Linked DNA regions of Homo sapiens: regions 1 and 3 are each linked to region 2. The links are contacts of gene promoters, found by promoter capture Hi-C in blood cells and fetal thymus (Javierre and others, 2016). All regions are on one chromosome and are shown on one strand. Each heading gives the region's core, a stretch centred on a gene start or on the middle of the fragment in contact. The rest is flanking DNA. Distances are from core to core; before and after follow the strand shown. Region 1 has its middle 18 kb from the start of ZNF331. Region 2 holds the start of ZNF160 (zinc finger protein 160). Region 3 overlaps ZNF765-ZNF761 (ZNF765-ZNF761 readthrough).

What was found. The method cuts DNA at HindIII sites, captures the fragments that hold promoters and counts their contacts. A CHiCAGO score of 5 or more calls a contact.
Region 1: a fragment that was not itself captured here is called in contact with the fragment with the promoter of ZNF160 in region 2 in 4 of 17 cell types (fetal thymus, naive CD4 T cells, total CD8 T cells and 1 more); the score reaches 6.9 in fetal thymus.
Region 3: a fragment that was not itself captured here is called in contact with the fragment with the promoter of ZNF160 in region 2 in 1 of 17 cell types (fetal thymus); the score reaches 5.1 in fetal thymus.

The regions. Positions count from the first base shown.
Region 1 is chr19:53,518,572-53,522,459 of GRCh38, forward strand. It overlaps a transcript of ZNF331 not described here. Among named protein-coding and RNA genes, the nearest start is that of ZNF331, 18 kb to the right of the region's middle. RefSeq lists enhancers at 1,153-1,927, 1,928-2,701, 2,192-2,391, 2,702-3,475. The HindIII fragment of the contact is 293 bases long and covers 2,414-2,706 here.
Region 2 is chr19:53,100,765-53,104,739 of GRCh38, forward strand. ZNF160 (zinc finger protein 160) reads right to left here and starts at 2,658. Exons shown (of 6, transcript NM_001322131.2): 1 at 2,501-2,658. RefSeq lists a silencer at 2,701-3,110. The HindIII fragment of the contact is 3,069 bases long and covers 832-3,900 here.
Region 3 is chr19:53,427,960-53,431,727 of GRCh38, forward strand. All of the region lies in intron 9 of ZNF765-ZNF761 (ZNF765-ZNF761 readthrough), which reads left to right. Among named protein-coding and RNA genes, the nearest start is that of ZNF761, 2.1 kb to the right of the region's middle. The HindIII fragment of the contact is 828 bases long and covers 1,505-2,332 here.

The sequences.
Region 1 (3,888 bases), core at 1,310-3,809, 420 kb after region 2:
AGCCATAGACACGCAGGCTCAAGCCACTTCACAAGTCAGTCAATATTGCAAACCATACATAGTAGTGTACTTAATCAATATATATAAATGTTATAGATTAAACATTTCACAATAAACAAAGTAATGTTTAACATCAAGAGAAAAGAGATAGGAGAAAAGGGTTAACAAGTCAGTCCAAGGAGAGTAACAAAACCCTTGGTCAGGGCTGGGCAGGCCCATTGGTCTTGCAAGAAGTCTTTGAGGCTTCAGCAGCAGATGCCAAGTGCTCATCACAAATGACAGCAGGACGGTTGCAGTTAAGATGGTTATTTCAAGCCACTGAAGCCTTGCTCCTTTTATGGCCACAGAGTCCTCTGGGGAGGACAGATGGTGGAAGAATGTGCTTGTTTATATCCTTATCTGGTTGGATGCAGTCTTTATTATTTATTTATTAAGCAAAACATCTTGTCCCTGTTGGCAAAGTGCCCTGTGGAATGCAAGATGGAGTCTTTTTCTAAGATGGAGTTACTTATGTCAAGGGTACTCTATACAGTAGTCTTACCCACACGTTCATAGAAACATACAATCTCATCCATGTCATAATGAAGGCCAAAAACCTCACAGGCGCCCTCCCTTACCTGAGCTCCAGGAGGCTCCCTGATGAGTCCACACAATCACAAATCCAGTCACACCCACCAATGATTCTCTCCCAACAACAGCATATATTTTTTAGGGCAAAGCATCTCACACCCCAGTGTTTGTCTAAATTGCACCATTTCGGAAGCCCCCTGCTCTTTTGCAGACCTTGGTCAAAGTGAAACATTTCACAGGGGTTCAGGCAGTGAGAAATATCCTGCCTAACCACCTGACCACAAGGCGAACAAAGACCCAATTAAAGAAACATTCTCATCATGTCCTACTGGGCAAAGGCCCAACTACAAAAACCATCCCTATCATATCTTTCTTGGCAAAGGTCCAAGGAACATCCTGATGAGATCCCACCGGAAAAAGGGCCAAACCGCCTGATCATAAGAACATCTTGTCAATATCCTGCCGGGCAGCAAGCCATACAGCCCAGGCCTCTCCCGCCCATACCAAGGTAACACTCACAGAGACATCTGAAGAGCCAGGCAGTGCTCCCAAGTCTGGGACAGCATCAGAGAACGAAACGCAAAGTCCTGCCCTTACAGAGAGAGCCTTGGCACAGACCCAGTCAGGACCAGGTCACTCCCGTGGAACCTACTCAAGGTCCCTACACACATGCCTGGAGCTCCCCAATCTACTGGGGGGTGGGGGAAAGGGCAGTGCTGAAACGTCCCCAAAATCTCACATGTAAACACCCTACCTAACACTTTCTAGAGGCATTTCCAGCTCGGGGCTGTATTTCCAAGAACGCTCTGGAGGCACAGCTCTTTTCTAAGGAGGGCCATGTTGCATGCTGGGAAATTTTTGAACTTTTCCCAAATCACAGCTTTTAAGCTTTCCGGGCTTATTATTATTATTATTATTATTTTGAGACATTGTTTCACTCTTATCGCCCAGGCTGGAGTGCAGTGGTGTGATCTCGGCTCACTGCAACCTCTGCCTCCTGGGTTCAAGCGATTCTCTTCCCTCAGCCTCCCAAGTAGCTGGGATTACAGGCACACACCACCACGCCTGGCTAATTTTTGCATTTTTAGAGCGATGGGGTTTCACCATGTTGGGCAGGAGGGTCTCGAACTCCTGATCTCAGGTGATATACCCGCCTCGGCCTCCCAAAGTGCTGAGATTACAGGCGTGATTTCTGGTCGTTTCAGACTACATTTCCTTCCCAGAAGGACGCGGGGACACGCCTTCCCTATGGACGGATCCCAAATGCAAGTTGTAAGCAATTATAACTGTAGGCCCCTAGAGCCTGAACCACTTTTCCCAGGAATTTTTTGTGGTGCGCCTTAGGAGCAAGCAAAGTTTCAGGGCAGGAGAAGGCCGACAGGGCTTCCAGCATTTGAAGATTCTGCCAGTCTGAAATACGCTTTCCCAGAAGTCTATGGGGGGTGCAGCTGCTCTAACAGTGGGAGGAGACACCGACGAAAAGCATTCTGACGGCCGCGCTTCCAGCGCTAAGGATTCCCGCGTAGTGAGCATTTCCCAGAGGTCTCTGGGGCATGGCTCCATTAGGGCCGTGTGCAGTTGCCTGCAGGGAAACACTGATGGGCGCCCTTCCAGATACGTCGATTCCCGGGTTATGAGCTACATTTCCCAGAAGCCCTCAAGGCAGGACGCCCTTAGGGTCGCGTAGAGTTGCATGCTGGGAAATCCTGACAGCCGCTTCCAACTCTGTGGATTTCCGGGTTATGGACTACATTTCCCAGAGGCCTCTGGGTCACGGCTCCATTTGCGCCGTGTAGAGTTGCATGCTGGGAAACACTGACGGGCGCCCTTCCAGCTGCGTCGAAGCTTCTCTGGTTTCGCATTACATTTCCCAGAGGGCCTTGGGGCACAGTCCAATGAGGAGCGAGCCGGGTGGCCGGCTGAGGGGCGTGCTTCATGCTCGCGGGATTTTTAAAAATGGTTTCTCCTGGATCTTATCCCAACTGCGCCTGAGACCTTGTTTCACCTCCTGATGTGCTGGGTGTGGTTAGGCCTCGAGCCGGGAGCTATTTGCCTCCCAGGAGGAAGCCAGGGCAGGGTTCCGCGGGGAATGGCGGTGAGGGAGCCACTCGGGACGCGGAGGCCCTAAAATGAAGAAGCTTCGGCCTGAGGCTTCGGGAGCGGCGAGCAGGGAAGTGGGAGTGTGTGTGAGTGTGTGTGTGTGTGTGTGTGTGTGTGTGTGAATAAGCCAGAGGCTGCCTGGTGGGGCCCCGCCGTGGCCCAGTGACTGAGATAATTGTCTTCGTCTGTGGGGTAATGCGAACAAGCCCCGTTCCCCTAAGCCGTGATGCATGCGGGGTTGACGCGGCCGGGCTCTGTCCCCATAAACTGTGACACAGGTGTGTGTAGACGTCTATGAGGGCCATAGCGCCGGGCTGTAAGGGCATCTGTAGGGGTGACGCAGCCGGGCTGTGTCTCTGCACCTCCGTTCTGTGCGAGGTCAATGCTGGTGGGGTCTGCAGAGGTGGCACGGCCAGGACGGGTCTCCGTGTCTCTGAAATGTGCCTTTGCACTTCTGTCAGGTTGACAGGGACAGGCAGTGTCCCTCTGGTGTGAGCGTCTGTGGGTGTGAAAGGGCCAGCGAGTGTGCGGCTGTGACTGGTCGGGATCGGGCCTGGGTGCATGGCCTTTTGAGTGAGCACAGGTGTGTGCGACCATGTCACCTGTCTTTCTAGTGTCTCCGTTGCTTCCTGTGCCTTGGCCTTCCAGCCATGTGGTACCTGCTAGGGAGCAGTGGTCCCAAAGTGACGTGAGAGGCTCTACGCTATTGTGAAAATGACCAAGAAGAAGGCTTCACAAGTCACGAGATGGCAGTTTTGGAGCCAGAAGTGCTCTCCGTGCACACTACCTGGACGACAAGAGGAAGTAACCTCAAGAATAGAATTCCTTTTGGGGAAGAAAGAGGTACCTGACATGGGAGGCGGGGAGGTGGTGAGAGGGGCAGCTCCATGTTTCAGAACCCCAGTTCCTAGAGTTTTCCAGCATTTCTCTGAAAAACTCACATGCCTGTGCCCTCTTATTTCTGATTGATTTTAACTGTGGTCTGGGGACAAGTGTGCCCTATTTTCTTTCTTTGTTTTTTTTTTTTTTGAGACAGAGTCTTGCTCTGTCGCCCAGGGCTGGAGTGCAGTGGTGCGATCTCGGTTCCCAGGTTCAAGCGATTCTCCTGCCTCAGCCTCCCAAGTAGCTGGGACCACAGGCGCACGCCACCATGCCCAGCTAATTTTTGTATTTTTAGTAGAGACGGGATTTCACCATGTTGGCATAGGTGATCTCGAT
Region 2 (3,975 bases), core at 1,408-3,907:
TTGAGATCAGGAGTTTAAGACCAGCCTGGCCAATATAATGAAACCCTATCTCTACTAAAAATACGAAAATTAGCCAGGTGTGGTGGCAGGTGCCTGTAATCCCAGCTACTTGGGAGGCTGAGGCAGGAGAATCACTTGAACCTGGGAGGTGGAGGTGGCAGTGAGCCAAGGTCACACGAGTGCACTACAGCCTGGGCATCAGAGTACCTCCATCTCAAAAAAAATAAATAAGGGCCAGGAGCGGTGGCTCACGCCTGTAATCCCAGAAATTTGGGAGGCCGAGACAGGTGGATCACTTGAGGTCAGGAGGTCAAGACCAGCCTAGCCAACATGGTGAAATCCCGTCTCTACTAAAAATACAAAAAATTAGCCAGGCGTGGTGGCACACACCTGTAATCCCAGCTAGTTGGAAGGCTGAGGCAGGAGAATCACTTGAACCCAGGAGACAGAGGTTGCAGTGAGCTGAGATCACGCCACTGCCCTCCAGCCTGGGTGAAAGAGCGAGACTGTCTCAAAAATAAATAAATAAATAAATAAAAATGAATAAAGTTACCTACTGACTACCAAAGAGTATTTCCAATATATGATAAAGAGTAGAAAGCATGCAGACCTCAATCTGAACTCAACACAATTAACTTCAAATGGAAACCATTTTGAAAATATATATATTATTTAATATGTATATGATATATTAACTATATATGGAATTCTACAAAGGGAAAAAATTGAAAATATATCACATTTAGAAAAGAATGACATGAGCCAATACAGGATTCCACAAAAGCTTACTTCAGCAATAATTACATATAGAAAAAGAGACTGAATTAGATAAGCTTCATCTCAACCTTCAGCATGAACTGTGAGATGAAAGGTAAATACAAGGCACCAGGCAGTGACACAGCCAGTCACTCCTTGCCTCTCTTCACTGCCCCCACCCTACCCCATCCTCGGAAACAGGAAGAGGGAGACCCATAACTGAATGAGGCAAGTCACTGCCCAATGGCTAAACAGCATGGGCAAATGAAAGCTAGCCTCTTATGCCATAATTGTAAAATGCACAAGCCTTTTACACAGAGCTTTGTAATTCTCATCCTTATATGTAGAATTTAAACAATTAGATTACAATTTAAATGTAACACATTATAAATAGAGAAATCAAATTGTCATATCCAATCTCAACTCACCTCTCACCTGGCCCCAGGGCGCCCCTCTTTCTTTATAACTATGTGTTCCTCTCCCCCATTTTGTGCCTCTCACTTTCACCTTGTCTCTCCAGCCTTTTTCCCCTTTTATCTTCCCCCTAGGATTCTGACGATGTTGTGCCTCTTTTTTCTTCTGCTGTTTCTCCCTTCTTTGTTTTTTCCCCTTATATCTGTTCTACTCCATTCTTCCAATTTGTTTCACCTCTTGTGGCGTTTTCTTTCCAATCTTTTCATCGTCCCAATCTCCATCTATTTCTGCCTCTTTCTTACCCCATCTCCGCGCCTCCTCTGCTCTCCCTGTTAAATCCCCTCTTCCCTGTTACACCCGCTTATCCCCACTCTCTGGCACTCCCAGATCCCAGGCCTCCCTGTGTTGTGGTGCTCCCTCTGCTCGCCTTGTCACCAGCTGTCCCCTCCAGCTGTCCCAGCACCACGCAGCTCTGTCTGCCCTCGGCCAAATCCTTTCTCCTCTCCCCCACTCTCTGTCTGAGGAGGCTCCTTCTTTGCTGTCCCTCTCCTTATCTTGTTGTCCTGCATCTCGGGACATCGAGCTTTTCTCTACATTTCGCCAATTGCTTTTCTGCCCCTGCTACTTTCTTGACTGCTTCTTTCACTCTGTCGCTGCAAATCTCTCACCCATCCTCCACTTTGCCATCTGTTTATGGGTCTCCCTCATTTTTCTTTTCTCTTTCTTGGTTTTTCCATCTCCTCTCAGTGGCTCTTTGTCTCTCTTTCTCCTGATTCCCTTGGGCCACACATTCACTGGAGGGTTTGTAGTAAGATGTCTGCATGTTGGAGGAGTACATTTTCCAGGGGGTGGAGCTGGGCAGGCAAAAACACCGGGTGTCACAGGACGGGCCCCGGGCACCTCCCCAACGAGGGCTCAAGGGAAGCGGTGACTGCGAAGGGGAGGCCTGGGGAGCAGCAGGGCCCGGCACGAGGAGGAGGGAGGTGGGGGGCGACGGCGCCTTAGGACAGGGGTGGGATGTGCAGGATCCCAGGACCAGGCGGAGGCGCGGCCTCCCCGGGACTGGGTCGGCGGCGCTGCGCTCCAGGGGCCGACGAGAGCGAGGCTGGGAGGCGCCCAGGGCAGGCGGTGAGGACTTTAAGCGATGCGGGGCGGGAGGAGGAGTCAGTAAAGGATTTTAAGCAGGAAAATCCTGCTTAAACGTTTAAAAAACCGGGAAAGGCCGTGTTTACTTGGCCCAAGGCAGAAAGACCGGGGGCAGGGACCAGCCTCAGGGCGACTTTAACCCAAAAGGAAGCGTCTCCGGGCCCACACAGCAAGGCCTATTTACCTGAGGTGGAGGGTGCGGTGCGGAGATTTTAAGTCCGTAGCGACCCCCGGGCATCGGGTGTGCGAATGGGGGACGGCGAGGCGCAGGTTGAGTCTACACAGAGGAACACTCATACGCCATGGTGTGATGCTTGCTCCGCACGATCCACTTCCGGGTCTGTGGGCAACTGCGCGAAGGAAAGCGACCGAGCGGCCCGGGGCGGGGTCCGAGATGGGCGGAACCGGAAAAGGGCGGGGCGTTGAGAGAGCCGGGCTGAAGCAGGGGCCGCCAGGCAGGGACCCCAGGGAAGGAACGGGGAGGAGCCACCGGGGAGGGGTGGGGAGTGACCAAGTGGAGGGACCCGGGGGCGGGCCGGGGAGGAGCCGCCGGGGAAGGGCGGGGAGGAACCGCGGGAAGGGACCGCGGGGGAGGAAGGCGAAGGGACCGCGGGGGAGGGAGGCAGAGGGACCGCCAGGAAGGGACCCGGGGGAGAGGCGGGGCTGGACGGGACACGTTAGGGTCTGCGATTTCGTGTGATGCCCACAGCCCAGCGCCCAGAGCCATCTGTAGTGTCTTGTGGAACGGCGTAGATGTTTCAAACGGTTTCAAGTTAAAAGCACAGTTGTGTAGGTTATTTTGGAAACCAAACTGCTTTCCTCTTAGAATGGAGGCGGTTTATGTTGAAAGCATTTTTTGCTAGCGCGTTTACCCAGTAATGTTATTGACGCTGAAGCAGCCCAGGAGTCTGGGAACATGGGTTGACACGGAGCGGTGATGGCATGCTGGAAAAGTTTCTGCGATTAAAATTAAGTAATTTAAAAGCCCTGAAATTAGCAGTAACTTTTAAAAAATAGATATAAATTGCATTGTCCTTTTTTATACTTACTATTCTATTCCGTGCGAGATGACAACCTCAAACGCCTATACTTTTTTTTTTTTTTTTTGAGCCGGAGTCACGCTCTGTCGTCCAGGCTGGGGTGCAGTGGCATGATCTCTGCTCACTGCAACCTCGGCCTCCCGGGTTCAAGCAATGCTCCTGCCTCAGCCTCCCGAGTAGCTAGGATTACAGGCGCCCGCCACCACGTTCTTTAGCGGAGATGAAGTTTCACCATGTTGCCTAGGCTGGTCTCGAATTCCTGACCTCAAGTGATCCACCCGCCTCAGCCTCCCAAAGTGCTGGGATTACAGGCGTGAGCCACCATACCTGGCCCCAGGAACTACTTTCACCTACTGAATATATATTAAGTCCTTTGCCACAAAAAGATAATATACATAATTTATCTCAGAACAATTAAGATATTTACCACTGTAAATGACAAATTCAGACTTAGAGAAGGAAGATTTTATTCAAAAGGACTATTGCAATAGAGAGAATGTTCCAATCACAAGATCTGAAAATGTCCAAGAGACACAAACTAAAAAGCTTTTTTTTCTTTTTTTCATATATGGAGGAGTAAACAAGGCTAGAAAGCACAAGCACAAGTTATGAGGCTGTG
Region 3 (3,768 bases), core at 669-3,168, 330 kb after region 2:
TTTCACTGCTCCCTCTTGAACACCTGAAAAAATTTCCTATTTCCATGTGTCTGTATCCAGGTTATTGTCACTTTTACCTGAAGACACATTTATATATGCTGATATTCCCCAATAACTAATATATTTTTACTCTTTTTTTTTTTTTTGAGATGGAGTCCTGCTCTGTCACCCAGGCTGGAGTGCAGTGGCATGATCTCAGCTCACTGCAACCTCTGCCTCCCAGGTTCAAGTGATTCTCCTTCCTCAGCCTCCCAGGTTGCTGGGATTACAGGCACATGCCACCACCACTAGCTAATTTTTTTGTATTTTTATTAGAGATGCGGTTTCACCACATGGGTCAGGCTGGTCTTGAACTCCGGACGTCATATGATCCACCCGCCCTTGGTCTCCCAAGGTGCTGGGATTATAGGCATGAGCCGCTGCACCCGGCCCTAACTAATATATTTTAAATAACTTTTTGCTCTTGGCACATGGACTAAAACCACATCACCAGGCCTTCAATGACGTCCAATGTCTGCCATCTTATTTCCACTCCAGCTCCGCCCCAGGCATAGTTGCCTTTCTTTTTATTGAAGCCTTCTCCTTGCCAAGTTAATTAAAGAGAATGTTTTCTTCATCAAATTAGAAATTACATCCTCAGAGCTTTCCAGTATTTGTAGTTCTTACAGGCCACATTTATTACAAGTTTATAGACTCCAAACTTCTCCACTGAACAGTTAATAAAAAGGACACAGGCTTATTGTAAAATAATTCATTTAGTGCCTGCCATTCTGATTACACTAGAAATTTAGTTCTCCTGCTCAGCGTTCTGTTATGTGACTGTTCAATGCATTACTTAAAACTGCAAGATTGAATAGAGAGATCAGCTTCTGACACTGATGAATGCAAACCACAAGAAACCAAGTCTCCTCTGCAAAATGATGAAAACACTCGCAAAGTCACTAAAATCAATCATTTCAGACTTCTGAAATTTACCAAAGCCACAGAACAAAGTGAAAAGTATCTATCCCACAGAAAGTACCAAACTTCAGTAAGACAGCAGCATTTGTGTCATTTTAATGTGGAGGCATTACCATTACCCTCCATCCTTCGTTCAGTGTAGAGCACTGACCTCTTTTGAAGCTCCTTTTAAACACCTCCTATCAGGCCAGTCGCGGTGGCTCAAGCCTGTAATCCCAGCACTTTGGACGACAGAGCGAGACTCCATCTGAAAAAAAGAAAGAAAAAAAAAAGAGAAAGTGACTTTTCAAGACTGTGATTTATGGTCTCCCCTGGGAACCAACAGTATCTGTGCTGAGAGCAGATATTTGGGTGGAAGGGGCTCTGGTGTGCAGGGCATGCCTTCTGTAGCTCAGTGCTTCTGACAATGGGTCCGAGGGGAGAAACATTGGCATTAACAGGGAACTTGTTAAAGATGCCAATTTATAAATGCTACCTCAAACCTGCAGAATCAAACATTATTACAGTGGGTTGTGGAGTGCCAGATGACTTATATTCACCTTAAAGCTTGAGAGTCAGTGCTTAGCTAAGAGGCTCTCAGCCCAGGCTTCCAGTTGGATCAAATGGTCATATTCAGTTACTACCATCACCTGTGCCCTCCCCATAGCGTCTGTCTATTGGTGTCGGGGGAAACATCCATGCTGTTTCAATTAACTACCCTGCCCCCAGGTGATTCTAGGGTGAGGAGAAGTCCAGCATGAGGGCTTCCATATGCATTTGTGAAGGTTGATGGCAGACTGTTCCAAATGAGAATAATGGTTTCCGTGATATGATAAAAGCAATGCTATTGAATATGATGATGACTGATGAGAAGTTTTGCATAGCATTCGCTGTAAAAAAGCCACTTATAGGCTGGGCACGGTGGCTCACGCCTGTAATTCCAGCATTTTCGGAGGCTGAGGTGAGCAGATCACCGGAGGTCAAGAGTTCAAGACCAGCCTGGCTAACATGGTGAAACCCTGTCTCAACTAAAAATGCAAACATTAGCCAGATGTGGTGGTGGATGCCTGTAATCCCAGCTACTTGGGAGGCTGAGGCAGGAGAACTGCTTGAATCTGAGAGGTGTAGGTTGCAGTGAGCTGACATCATGCCTCTGCACTCCAGCCTGGGTGAGAGAGCAAGACTACGTCCAAAAAAAAAAAAAAAGAGAGAGAGAATTTTCCTGTAAATAATTAAAAAGACTAAGCAGCCCCAGAGATAAGACCTCCTGGGATCATTGTCCCTTTATATTGAGTGATAAAGTAACCTTCCTTGAAGTATATCAATCCATAACCAATCACCTTGCTGCACCCTATGTACTGGTCTTGAATGGAAAATGTGGTGATTCTTCTAAAGCTTCTCTGTCTTTCCGTGTGTGTGAAACCTAAGGGAACGCTGATCCCATTCATTTGGAGTTGATGTTTCCAGGTGGCTATCCTCATGCTTTGTGTTCAAATAAACTCTGTGCTTAATCATATATTCTAAATTTTATTATTTACTGCTGATATCAGTTTCTGTCAGACTGTAGGAGCCTCACCAGAGAGGGCACCTGTCGCTATGTTGTAAAACTCACACTTGTCAGAAAGACATGGGTTAGTGTTACTCCCCGTCCCTCAGAATGAAGCTAATTAGCTGACACAGATGGTCACCTCCATTACCAAGTAGAGTCAGGATGAACTATGTGTGACCAAGAGTGTTGTCAAGTCCTCTTCCCTGAGGACTGATTAGCGTTTATCTTGAAAACATGTCCTTAATGGGTTGTATAGAACAGTAAAGTTTCTTTCTCTTTTTTCAACCTCTTAGCTGTTTGCCTGTATTTCGCATCACAATCTGGTCTAAGGCTTATTTATTAATGAAATGGTTTTAATTTCTTTCTCTATGATCATCGTGGAGATGATTTCTCATTTGGAGAAAGACTTTTTGTTTGTTTTCAATTATATTTTCTCAACAATTAGACAGTGAAGTAAAAAGTATTTTGGGGGGGCCAGGCACAGTGGCTCACGCCTGTAATCCCAGTACTTTGGGAGGCCGAGGCAGGTGGATCACTTGAAGTCAGGAGGTTGAGACCAGCTGGCCAACATGGGGAACCCACCTACAAAAATACAAAAATTAGCCGGGCATGGTGGCACGCGCCTGTAATGGCAGGTACTCCGGAGGCTGAGGCAGGGGAATCGCTTGAACCCAGGAGGCAGAGGCTGCAGTGAGCCCAGTTCCTGCCACTGCACTCCAGCCTGGGCGACAGAGAAATGCTCTGTCTCAAAATAAAAGAAAAGAAATAAGTAAATAAATAAAAGAAAGTAATAGATCTCTTCTACAAATGTGCTGGGACAACTAACTGGATATCCACATGGAAAAGAATAATGTATCCCTATCTCACACAATCAAAATTTTATTTTAACGTTAAAAAATGGAGAAAAAAAGAGAGAGAGACGAGGGAGGGAGTCCTGAGGGAGGGGTGTTACTTTGTCGCCCAGGCTGGCCTGGACCCCCAGGCTCAGCGATCCTCTCGCCGCTGCTTCCTGAGTAGCTGGGAACTCAGGCTCCCGCCCCCGCGCCTGAATCCTTGCTGTGTTTATCCAGCAGGTCGCCCCTGGCTGGCCTGAGCATTCCGTCCCGCATCCCAGGGGGAGGCCCTAGGGAAGTCTCTGCAGCTGAGCACGGGGTGGACTCTCCCTCCTGAGTGAGTGGAGAATAGAAAGGGAGAGGATTTCTGTTCTGTTCTGTGGGCCGTCAGCATGAAATCGTACGTTCCGCCCAGGCAGGGCCTTGCATTTTACATTCTAGTTTGTA